2 separate regions of the Homo sapiens genome follow, and region 2 is linked to region 1. Evidence: promoter capture Hi-C in human tissues and cell types (Jung and others, 2019). All regions are on one chromosome and are shown on one strand. Each heading gives the region's core, a stretch centred on a gene start or on the middle of the fragment in contact. The rest is flanking DNA. Distances are from core to core; before and after follow the strand shown. Region 1 holds the start of PSMA1 (proteasome 20S subunit alpha 1). Region 2 overlaps RRAS2 (RAS related 2).

Region 1 (6,245 bases), core at 2,416-4,915:
GCATTAGCAGGAGAAAAAAAAGTGTCGGGATTACAGGTGTGAGCCACTTTGCCTGGCTTCCAATGACCTTTAAAGAAGTAGTACTATGTTCGCTGACCTAGTCTTCCTACAAAATATCTTTATTGATCAGTTTTTCAGCTTCTGATTAATGCTCAAGATGTATCTTGAGGCCGGGCATGGTAGCTCATGCCTATAATCCCAGCACTTTGGGAGGCCCAGGCAGGAGGATAGCTTGAGTCCAGGAGTTTGAGACCAACCTGGGCAACAAAGTAAGACCTTGTCTCTACAAAAAAAATAAAATTATCTGGGCATGGGGGTACTTGCCTGTAGTCCCAGCTACTTGGGAGGCTGAGGTAGGAGGATCACTTGGGCCCAGGAGGTCCAGGCTGAAGTGATTGTGCCATTGCACTCCAGCCTGGGCAACAGAGAAATACCCTGTCTTAAAAAAAAAAAAAAAAAATGTATCCTGAGAGCTGAGGAGCTGAGTATGGTGGCTCACTCCTGTAATTTCAGCACTTTGGGAGGCCAAGGAGGGAGGATCACTTTAAGGCCAGGCATTCATGACCAGCCTGGGCAACATAGTAGGACCCTGTCTCTACAAAAAATTTTAAAATTAGCCAGGTATGGTGGTGTGCACCTGTAGCCCTAGCTACTTGGGAGGCTGAGGCAATAGGATGGCTTGAGCCCAGGAGTTCAAGGTTACAGTGAGCTATGATCATGCCACTGTACTCTAGCCTGGGCTACACAGCTAGACTCTGTCTCTAAAAAAAAAGTTGTTGTTGTTGTTGTTTTTAACGATGTATCTTGAGCCAAATCCCCAAAACACACAAAGAGGAGCTGAAAATCATATAAACCTTTAATAAGCCCTTGGGACTTTCATTCTTAACAAAAAGGTCAACCAAATGCCCCTTCTTTTGGTCTACAAGTAGAGCTTTGATAACAGCCATTCTGAAGAGTACAGACAATTGCTGTGAATAAAGGATGTATCGCAAAGCCCCAGATATTTGCTTAGGAAATAATTATCAGAAGGACAGGTTTGGAGTGATAGATCTATCACTCATTCATTCAACAAATGTTTAGTGAGTGCCTACTATATGCCAGGCTTTGTTTCAGGTACTAGGAATATCTCAGTAAATTTTTAAAAAGTCAAAAAATTATGTTTGGATATTTATGTGATTCCCTGTTGCATATTTACAATGTGTGCTTCAACTTTTATTTAAACTAGATTCAGTGGGTTTCTTTTATTTGTATCCAAAAGGCCCTTTCTATAAAAGTGACACAGTAATAAGAGGTTACCATCCCTAATTACAGGAAGCTCCTACAAGTCAGTAAGAAAATGATTAACACAATAATATGAGGAAAGGAATGAAGTGGCAATCCACTAAAGTAACATAAACAGCCAAGAAATACAACAAAAGATTTTTTTACTAGTAATAAAAAACTATAAATAAAATTAAAAATTAAAGAAACAGGTTTTCTTTTTTGGCCTATCAAATTGATAAAAGTAAAAAGTACTTATAATATCCAGTGTTGGTAAGAATACAGAGAAAACTGACTCTCAGGCAGCGTAGAATATTAAATGGATATAACTTTTTTTGCAACTCAGCCATATTTATCATAACTGTAAATGTAAGTTCCCTTTGACCCCACAATTCTACTTCTATGAATTCTTCATCAGGTAAGGTAATTATGCACACAATAGGTGTGTATGTACAAGAATATTCATTATAGTATTTTTATGATACCAATAACTTGGAAACAATTGAATTGCACACTAATAATTAAGCAAATTATTATATTTCCATACAATAAAATACTATGCGACTATTGAAAATAATATAGACCATTACTTATGGACATATGATAGCTATAACTTTTTAAGTGTATTAATAAAAACAGTATCATCTTATTTTTAAAAATTGTATATTTATTACACATCTGTGTGAGGCATGTGACTAGAGAGATATATATGGAAAGAATTTTCAAAATGTTTATGTAGTATATGACAATTTTTAAATGAGCATTTATTTAATCAGTTAGCACTATTTATAAACACTTAATATGTGCTACGCATTGTGCTAGGTCCTGGAGAAACGAAAGAGAACAATCTATTAATTTAATCTGTTAATTTAGTCCACCAAATCAACAGTGTTTTTCAGAAATACGACAATAACCAGTGTTGATGAATTAGAGAAGGTAACCTCATATACTACTGTTGAGAGTATATGTTGGTAAAACATTTCTGGAGAACAATTTAGTACTTTGTTTTTTGTTTTTTTTTTTTTGAGATGGAGTCGCACTCTGTCGCCCAGGCTGGAGTGCAGTGGCACGATCTCAGCTCACTGCAACCTCCGCCTCCCGGGTTCAAGCGATTCTCCTGCCTCAGCCTCCTGAGGCACGCCACCACGCCCGGCTAATTTTTGTATTTTTAGTAGAGACGGGGTTTTACCATGTTGGCCAGGATGGTCCGATCTCCTGACCTCGTGATCCACCCGCCTCTGCCTTCCAAAGTGTTGGGATTACAAGCGTGAGCCACCGCGCCCGGCTTTTTTTTTTTTTGAAACAGAATCTCTATTGCCCAGGCGGGCTGGAGTGCAACGGCGCGACCATGGCTCACTGCAACCTCGATCTCCCTGGCTCAAGAGATCCTCCCACATCAGCTTCCCGAGTGGCTGGGACCACAGGCCCATGCCAACATGCCCAGCCTTTTTTTTTTATTATTCTTATTCTTATTCTTATTCTTATTATTATTGTAGCGACGAGGTCCCACTGTATTAAAATAATATAGTGATCTCAAACTCCTGGGTTCAAGCGATCCTCCGCCCTCGGCCTCCAATAGCGCTGGGATTACAGGCGTGAGCCACCACACCCAGTCTCTTTTTTACAAAGAATATAAATAGCCGGTGGATGTCAGACTATTTCGTTATGGAAAGATGCTCTCAAAAGACGAAATAGATAAATCGAAAGAAAGTGTCCATTTTTTCTCAGTGGCCTAATCTGTCAGGTACCATGCTTGGTTTTGGGGGCATAGAAAGACATTAGCGCCCTCATGGAGTTCAAAGTCTGGTGGAAGAAATCAATCATAATAACAATGAGGGGTTAACGACAACAGACCCTTGAAAGATAACATCTCCAGGGAATAAGGAAGAGCATTCCAAAGTATTTTGCCAAATGGCAAAAACCGCAGTTACTTTTGCACCAACCTTAATGCAAATAAAAGCATGTACACAAACAAGATACTCGAGGAAGAATACAGCTGACACACAGAAACGGATCGTTATCTTGTGGCTTTCCTGCAGCCTCGTTCCTTTCAGTCACATAACACCCCAAATCTGTGGACGGTTAATGAGAGCTAGTATCACCCAGAGTCACGGCTGTTGACTCGGACGACTTTAGATGCAGCCCGCCAGCGGGAGAAACTGGAGGGAATCCGCCATACACAGGAACCTAGAAGGGCTACGTGACAGGGGCTGCCCCGCAGCTCTCAGCCGCCGGCACTCCCAGCCAGGTTTTCCCGCCAGTCTCAGTTCCTAGATCTTCCGAGGCTCCGCCCGCCGCCGAGCGGTCGGAAAGTTTTAAGGAGGGGGAAGTGTTGCAAGCCTATCGATATCTCTGGAATAGACTGCGCTACCCTGCGCCGCCGCCGTCAAACTCCCGCAGACTTCTCTGTAGATCGCTGAGCGATACTTTCGGCAGCACCTCCTTGATTCTCAGTTTTGCTGGAGGCCGCAACCAGGCCCGCGCCGCCACCATGGTACGTTGAATCCCGATCTCTGGAAGGTTTAGGGCAGAGCTCTGGTGACTGGGGGATGACGAGCCACCTCTCCTGTCATCCTTAGCGTCGCCCGGTGCCACGAGGTATGAGAGCCTCGGCAGACGGCCGGGCTCCGGCAGTGATTCAGCATCTCCGGCCTGGCCGGGCTAGGGGTTATCGGTAGCCAGTGCGGCCTTTCCACCGCTTTCGCTTCCCGGGGAGCCTCCGACACTTCCTCCTCGGTCAGCTAGATGAGTTCGCCCCTCAGGTTCCTTCAGTGGAGTAGATTCTGAGCGGTCCAGAATAGCTCCTAGTGCTGTGTATGGGAGAGGAGAAGACAGAGACTTGACTTGGAGGCCTACCTGTACCACCAGTGCGGACTTGACCCCCAGGTTTGTGTTCCTGGACAGCGTCCGTTTTCCTGGTGGGTCCGTCTATTTATCTCTCGCCTAGACTTCGATTAGAAGAGGCCCTTTTCAATCATTTTGTCCAGTCACCTAGTTGCGGATGAGTAAGCCGAGGCTGAGAGGGGAAGTGATGGAATCAGGGTTACAATATAGGGTTCTGGGTTTCCAGTTCTGTCTGCCATTCTAGCACTCAATCTCACTCCCATGACTATTATTATAATAGTCGTAATAGCCGTAATGGTTCTATCGCTGCAGCTATTTGTGTCCACCTCTAACTTTGTGAGGACATTTTTGTTCATTCAATGTGAATATACAGACAGCACTTGTACAGGCATAACTACAGTGAACATTAAAAAATAAGTCATACATGTCCCTAATCATAAAAACAGAAAGGGACGTTTAGATAAAGAGCTGTGGGAGTATATGTTAGGGGGATTTGGGAAGAAAAGGAGAAGACTTCAAGAAATCGACATTTAAGCTACCTTAAAGAAAAGGAAGACTTTTAACCATTTATTAGGGCCCAATAAAAGGGAGCAGCATAAGCAAAAATAGGCAAGAAAGTTGATTGTGAACTTTAGTAATTGAGCCTAAAGGGGTTGATATGGAGGGTGTTAGAATAAGAGTTTGGAAAAATAGGACCCATTTAGATCTGCTTCTCCCTCTCCCACGAGTTTATGGTAAATGTAGAATTGGCTTACATCTGAGTACAGTAGTAATCTTCCAGTAAGACTGCATGAACAGAGTGCCTTAACATTGAATGGAAATACAAGCATATTTCTTAATGAATGTTAAGAGTTGGGATTTGAAATGTTCTTCTATTAACAGGTATTTTTTTCTTTTACTTTTAGTTTCGAAATCAGTATGACAATGATGTCACTGTTTGGAGCCCCCAGGTAAAATAATGTTTTTAAACCTTTTCTGTGAAGTGGCTTTTTGTGGCTGCAATATATTTAGAAACTTGTGAGAGCGTAGGCTTGGGGAAAATGGAATATAATTATTTTAGACGTTCTTGGAAGTTGCATTTATAATTAAAATAGGTTTCCTGATGGACCTAGAGGACATTATGTTAAGTGAAATAAGCCAGAAACAGAAAGAAAAATGTTTCATGCTCTCACTTATATGTGGAATCTTTTGTTTAAAAGGGCAAATATATATATAGAGAGAGTAAAACAGTGGTTACCAGGGTAGGGGGTGGCAGTGGGGAGGAAAAAAGAGGAGATACAAAGTAGCAAATATGTAGGTTGAGCAAGTGGAAAGATCTAATGTACAACATGAAGACTACAGTTAATAATGCAGGTAGTGTTTTGTATTCAAGATTTTTGTTAAATGAGTAGTTTATAGCCCTTGCCACAGCAGAGGAAAATGGGTAACTATGTGAGACAACGGATGTGTTCATTCTGCGATAGTGACCCTACTATATATGTGTATCTTATAACATCATGTTGCATACGTTAAATATACACAAGAAAATTTATTTTAAAAGAAGCTTTCAGCCGGGTGCAGTGGCTCATGCCTGTAATCCCAGCACTTTGGGAGGCCAAGGAAGGTAGATTGCTTGAGTCTTGGAGTTCAAGACCACCCTGAACAACATGAAACCCGGACTCTACAAGAAATACAAAAATTAGCTGGGCGTGGTGGTGCTTGCCTATAGTCCCAGCTACTGTGGACAGTGAGGTGAGAGGACTGCTTGAGCCTAGGAGGCAGAGGTTGTACTGAGCTGAAGATTGTGCCACTGCACTCCAGCCTGGGTGACAGAGTGAGAACCTGTCTCAAAAAAAAAAAAAGGTCTCTTGATTAAAAAAAAAATCAGTTGAGATTTAACTGTGCTCACCTGATATTTGAAAACCCTAATTTTTAATTTATAAAAGATCTTCTAAGATGTGTGTTTTTTGTTTTTTTTTTCTTTAGGGCAGGATTCATCAAATTGAATATGCAATGGAAGCTGTTAAACAAGGTTCAGCCACAGTTGGTCTGAAATCAAAAACTCATGCAGTTTTGGTTGCATTGAAAGTAAGTACAGTAATAAATATGTCTTCCTCTGTAGAAAACAATGTAAATTTCACCATAGAAAATAAGGTTGTAAA
Region 2 (6,245 bases), core at 1,200-3,699, 210 kb after region 1:
ACCATTCTCTGTTCTAGAAGAGGTGAGAAATGAAATTGGGGTTTAGGATATTGGTAGGTAACGGGATAGAGGGGAGAGGAAGTGAAAATGGAAGTAACAGTCTAGACTCTGGGAAGCAAAAGTTACAACTAGAAGTGAGTTGGTTACCTACCTGTTTATGGGGCACCCTTCCATTTCTAAGTTTGGAAAGGAAAAGAGCCAATTTTTGAATACTCAGTTTTAGTTAAGCAGTGTACTGAGTACTTAACAATATCATTTAATCTTCACAATAGCCCTTTCAAGTAAGAATCATTATGATCATCTTTTAGGTGAGGAAATTGAGACTTAAGAGATTAAATAACTTTCCCAAGATGATACAGCAATTAAGCGGGGTATGTAGGTCTGACTGCCTCTAAAATACATGCTCTTTACTTCATAGCACCTGAAGGGGGAGTCTGTGTGCAGTAGTTCACATTTCATGTGGAGCTGTAAAGTACAGAAAATGTTCACGTTTTACTCCTTGTAAAAAACTCTTGAAAGTGTCTCTCAGCTTTGCAAGTAATTAAATTTGGTGTCAGTGAGGAGTGACTTACTGCAAATCCTACAGCTATAAAGTAGCAGAGGTAGGGCTTCAAGCAAATCTTCCTCTTTTAAAATATGATATTTTGCTGTATTCCACAAATTTAAAACAAGGAAGTCCTCGATAGCACCTATAAATTATATTTGGCATATTGTAGGAGCTAAACGTGTCATAATAAAATTATATAGCTGGAAAGAGTCTTAAAGAGGTCATGAAGGGCAAACCCCTCATTTATAGGTGAGAGCCAGGAAAGAGGTTTAAGAGATTTACTCATCTAGGAGCACTGAGCTAGTTGTTTGTATAGCTGGGACTAGAATCTAGCTTTTATTACTAAAGAGTTTATGTTTAATCTGTCTAGGTCTTTCGAAACTCTTGGGTTCCTTCTTTCATTCATGTATTTCAAATTTGAAAGCTACAAGAATTGTTTTCCTTCCATCCATATCTCCTAGCAACCCAGTTAAACCCACAGGTAAAGTTAATCAGTTTCTTGTGTATCTTTCCAGAGATATTTTGTGCACATAAAGCAAATACATAAACTGTGGGTATTTAACAACATATCTTGCAGATTGCTGTATATTAATGCATGAAGTCATTCCTTTTTTTAATGGTTATATTCATATTGAATGAACCTTTCGTAATTTAACCAGGCATTTGCTGAATGACATTGTCCTTGCTGAAGCACATTGTGTTTCCAGTCTTTTAAAGACATTTCACTATGAACAACCTTGTACATATCATTTCTTATATGTGCAGACCTATCGGCAGGATAAGTTTCTGGAATTGAAATTGCTGGGTCAAACAGTATCTTTGTGTATTTAAAAAAAAATGACCTACTTACACCTTTACTCGTAACTTACAAATGGGGCGTTTCCATTTTTAATGAAACGACTTTACTTTTCTATTTGGCAGTAGCAGTTTATAATTTAAAAAAATAATGAATCACTTATTTTAAGGGGTACCAGGATTTTTTTTTTTAAACTGTCGCAGGCTATGTGCTATGTTAGTATGGCAGGTTAAAGAAAGTATAATGGAAGGAGTATTGCATTGGAGTTAGACCTGATTGGAATCCCAGTTCCACTTTGTGACCTTTGGCAGGTTATTTAACTGCTGAGCCTCAATGGTCTCATCTGTAAAATGGTGGGCGCTGTTATCCCAGCTTCTCGGGAGGCTGAGGCAGGAGAATCACTTGAACCAGGGAGAGACGGAGGTTGCATTGAGCCGAGATTGCACCACTGCTCTCCAGCCTGGGCGACAAAATGAGATATTCTGTCTCAAAAACTAGCCTTACCAATACGGTTGTCTTGAACTATTGTATTTCATCACATTTCCCCCCGTACATTTTAGTATATCTGAAATTGAGATGCTTCATAGTCAAAGGCATGTCATGAGTGTATTGGTAGCAGTTTTTTTTTCCCTCTTCCTTTTTCTGCTTTTTTTTTGTTGTTGTTGTTTTTTGTTTTTTTTTGTTTTTTTTGGTTTGGGGGAGGGGGCAGGGTCTCCTCTGTTACCCAGGCTGGAGTGCAGTGGCACAATCACTGCTCACTGCAGCCTTGACTTCCCGAGCTCCCATGATCCTCCCACTTCAACTTCCCACATAGCTAGGACCACAGGCATGTGCCATCATGCCCTGCTAATTTTTGTATTTTGGGTAGACACTGGGTTTCACCATGTTTCCCAGGCTGGTCTTGAACTCCTGACCTCAAGTGATCCACCCACCTTGGCCTTCCAAAGTACTAGGATTATAAGCGTGAGCCACTGCGCCCGGCCTTTTTTTTTTTTTTTTTATCTTGGCACATAAAATAATGATGGTCTTACAATCAGTGTCATCTTAGATTTGATGAAAAAGGGTAAATTCACATACTGGGACAAGTGAACTATGCTAGGGCATGGTATAGGCTGAAGCTCAGTGTGATAGGAAAAGCTCAGGGTAGGGAATGGGGTGTTAGAGGGATAGTTACAGTGAGGGAAGTTTCATTCTAGATCAGCAGTCAGCCCAGTAGAACAGCCACCTAGTGGGAGGCTAGTACAACTGATTGATGGCTCAGGAGCAGGTATTGCCCAAAATCCTGGGTATGTGGAATTGGAATTGTGGAGAGTTGTTGGTGGGTAATAAGACTTCGCCCCACAGTTGAGATTTAGGAACTATGTACTCACTTATGGCAGGAAGGCTTTATAAGAAGGGGGCTATGAGAGAAAATATTTGCAAATCATCTGGGCACAGTGATGCATGCCTGTAGTCCCAGCTACTCAGGAGGCTGAGATGGCAGGATCCCTTAAGCCTAGAGTTCGACACCAGCCTGGACAACATAGTGGGATCACATCTCTATAAATGAAGGAATGAATGAAAACCATTGAAAAAATATTTGTAAATCATATTTCTGATAAGGGATTTATATCCAGAATATAGTACTCTTACATTCAATGATAAGATAAAATTTAATAAGGGGCAACGATTTGAGTAGCCATTTCTGCAAAGAAGATATACAAATGGCCAATAAGCACACAAAAAGGTACTCAACATCCCACTAGGGAAATGCACATTAAAACTGCAGTGAGAGACTATTTTACATCCGTAGGGTGTCTGTTGTAAAAAAAAAAATTCTTTTTTTGTTGGGGTGGGGGCGGCGGTGGGGGATAGGATCTCAGTCTGTAGCCCAGGTTGGAATGCAGTGGTGCGGTCGCAGCTCACTGCAGCCTCTAACTCCTGGGCTCAAGTGATCCTCCTACCTCAGCCTCTCACATAGCTGGGACTACAGTTACGCACCACCACATCTGACTAATTTTTAAATATTTTGTAGAGATGGGGGTCTCACTGTGTTGCCCAGCTGGTCTCGAATTCCTGGGCTCAAGTGATCCTCTTGCCTTAGCCTTCCAAAGTATTGGGATTACAGGTGTGAGCCATCGCGCACGGCCAAGACTGAGTTTAATAACAGGTCTAGGTGAGGATATTGAAAAATTGGAACCCCCAAACACTGCTAGTGGGAATGTGTCTGTGGGTTTTAATTTGGGAATTCAAGGAATATCTCTTGAGGGTTTTAATTTGAGGACAGTGGGAAGAGAGATACAGTGTTTTTGTACTTAGAATGTTTTCAGAAGAAGGCTAAACCCAGGGAAAGCTATTGGAGTGGGGAGTTAGGTCAGGCTGAGAAGGCTGGGGTATACAAGTGGTACCCCAAAGACAAGCTTTCCCTCTATACAAGTTTTGTTTAGGCCTGGCTCTGTCCTCTGGAAAAGGAAAAGAAATTCTCTTCCCATTTCTTCTTAGGAAAAATTACCGTGCTTTGGAGGTTGGAACTTGGGGCTGATACTGGCAGGGCCATATCCAGTAGTAGCTTTTGTGGTTTGGCCTCCGAATATACCTGCAATTTAGGAAAAAACTCCAAATAACTTATAAACAGACTTTTGTCATAGAACCAGTTTGTAAGCTGACTTTGTACTGTACTTTCTGCTGGCACATACCAGGCCCATTCATTTGCAACTAAATACTATATGTGAGGTAATACATATATATTAGCTGAAAATGTATGGAAGGCAAATGAAGGCACATGGTTGCTTTAGGCAGTCTGAGACAACTGGCAACACTGAAGACCTCACTAAATTTTGTTAAAAAGGAACTAAAAGGATTACTGGATTTAGTGTAGCTTTTATTATTCTGCATTAGAGTTCTGGGGATTAAATTATAGACATATATAATTGTACATGTTAGATTAAATGAAATACTAATTTCAGTCAAAAGCTATACTTCAGTGAAGGAATATCAAGCATATTGGAAACATTTGACAAAAAAAATAAGGGAGGATGTTGCAGGGAACAAAGGTTCTCTGTGACATGACAGCTGCTGCTAAAAAGTGACACAAGGAGGAGCCCAGCTCTGGCTCACAGCTGCCTGAAGTTGCTGCAGTCTTCTCTAGTGTTACCAGAGGAATTTGCTCTGCTCTTGTTTTAGAAAATGGAGGCTACCAATGGCTAACTAGGTCCTTATTGTGCTTGGGGAAATTAATTCTTCTTTCCCCACTGCAGTCCTCCCCTACTTTGAGATCTGTGTGCAAGTATATTACTTAGCTTCAGGAAAGTTTTAAAAACCTTGAGCATGTAAATCGAGTTTTATATGTCCTGGGACATACATATAACACAATTTTAACTGGAACTCTAATTCATTTTAGCTTCTTTTGAAACCCAAAAGACAGAATAAAACAGTAGGTGCCAAGTTATCCTCATATTCCAAGAACTTGCATAGTGGGTAGCCTTAAACTGGTTTTGCACATGTAGCCCATACCTACCTCTAGGGAATAAAAGTGTTGAGATTATTAAGGGTTCTAAGACAATGTTTTTGGAAAGAGCTATTAGTATGTTGTATGTTTGGTGTCCTTTCCTGCTTCCACACGTAGTGGAGGAGAGGAGAAAGATGCTTCTCCTTAAGCCCCTTTCATTTAAGCCAAATGATGAGGGAGGCTCCAATGGAGTCATTCTGAGAATTTGACATGTATCCCCTCGAGTTTGGGGAATGAAAGGTTTAGTATACAAATCTATGGATCAGTAGCCCTGAGGCAGCAGAGCACAGAGAGGGCTGTATGTTAGCACTTTGTACTTAGAAAGACGTTAGTGTTTCCTCAGGCTGCTGGGTGAAACCAGCTTAAAGCCATCTAGAAAGGGACACTGTGCTCGGCCACCTAGAAGGTGACATGAACCAGGAGGAAGGTACCCATGGAAACCCCAGAGGTGGAGGGTTGGAGTTGTAAATGGCCAGGTCTCACTTAAGTTCTGGGAATTGAGTATGGAGGGCCCTCATGAAAAAGTTGGTATGAACATCACACTTAATTGGTGTGGCCTTTTGACACCCCCATAGCTTTTCCCACTGCTTCAGTTCCCACTCTGAAGGAGCCAGAGACAGCCTTGTTGTGGGTAGAAGAGATGCAGAGCAGGGAGAGAGAGATGATGACAGGACCCCTCACATCCCCCAGCCCAACTAGACTTCTCAGCTCCACCAAGGAAGGGGAGAAGCTTTAATTTAGATGAGTATTGATTACTGCAGTTAAGACAGTTATTGAAACTATGGTGTTCTTGGGGCTGAAGGATATTTAAACTTTTTTCCCCCCTTTTTGTGGAGATGGGGGTCTCTCTCTGTCGCTGAGGCCGGTCTCAAACTCCTGGGCTCAAGCAGTCCTCCTGCCTCTGCCTCCCAAAGGGCTGGGATTACAGGCATGAACTGTTGTGTTTGGCCTAAATATATTTATAGTCAAAGAATGATTTTAAAAAATTATGAGACTTGCCTTAGATTTCATTCAGGAACAAGGAAAAACTTTCCCACAGAGGGGCTTGGAGGGAAAGTTTTATGCTTATACCCATTGAGTTTAACTCAGTATATCAGTTATTCATACATTCACTTAGACACATACATGAAAGGATAAGCAATTGTAAAAGGAAATTGTAAGTAGCAATTATATAGTATACATTAAGCTTGGTATATGTATTTTCCAAATCACAACTTATTACTAATAAGACAGAAGTTGAGAAAAATCCAAACTGTTGTCACTTTAAGGGTAAGAGAATATTGAGATTGTTTTCTGGTTGGAGTGTTGAAAGCATTGCAAAGAAAGCAAGATGTGATTTGGGCTTTATCAGCTATAATTTATTAAGGGCCTACTGTGTGTCATCTGTTGGGCTTTGTACTCTACATAGACATAGA

The links. The method cuts DNA at HindIII sites, captures the fragments that hold promoters and counts their contacts. A contact is called where the count stands out against the background at its distance.
Region 2: a fragment that was not itself captured here is called in contact with the fragment with the promoter of PSMA1 in region 1 in 1 of the 25 tissues and cell types used here (ovary).

What each region holds. Positions count from the first base shown.
Region 1 is chr11:14,517,806-14,524,050 of GRCh38, reverse strand. It overlaps PSMA1 (proteasome 20S subunit alpha 1), which reads left to right and starts at 3,665. Exons shown (of 10, transcript NM_002786.4): 1 at 3,665-3,754; 2 at 5,010-5,054; 3 at 6,070-6,171. The coding sequence starts at 3,752. RefSeq lists enhancers at 3,534-3,723, 3,258-3,872. The HindIII fragment of the contact is 15,381 bases long and covers 1-6,245 here.
Region 2 is chr11:14,302,990-14,309,234 of GRCh38, reverse strand. All of the region lies in intron 1 of RRAS2 (RAS related 2), which reads left to right. Among named protein-coding and RNA genes, the nearest start is that of RRAS2, 53 kb to the left of the region's middle. RefSeq lists an enhancer at 139-268. The HindIII fragment of the contact is 7,740 bases long and covers 1-6,245 here.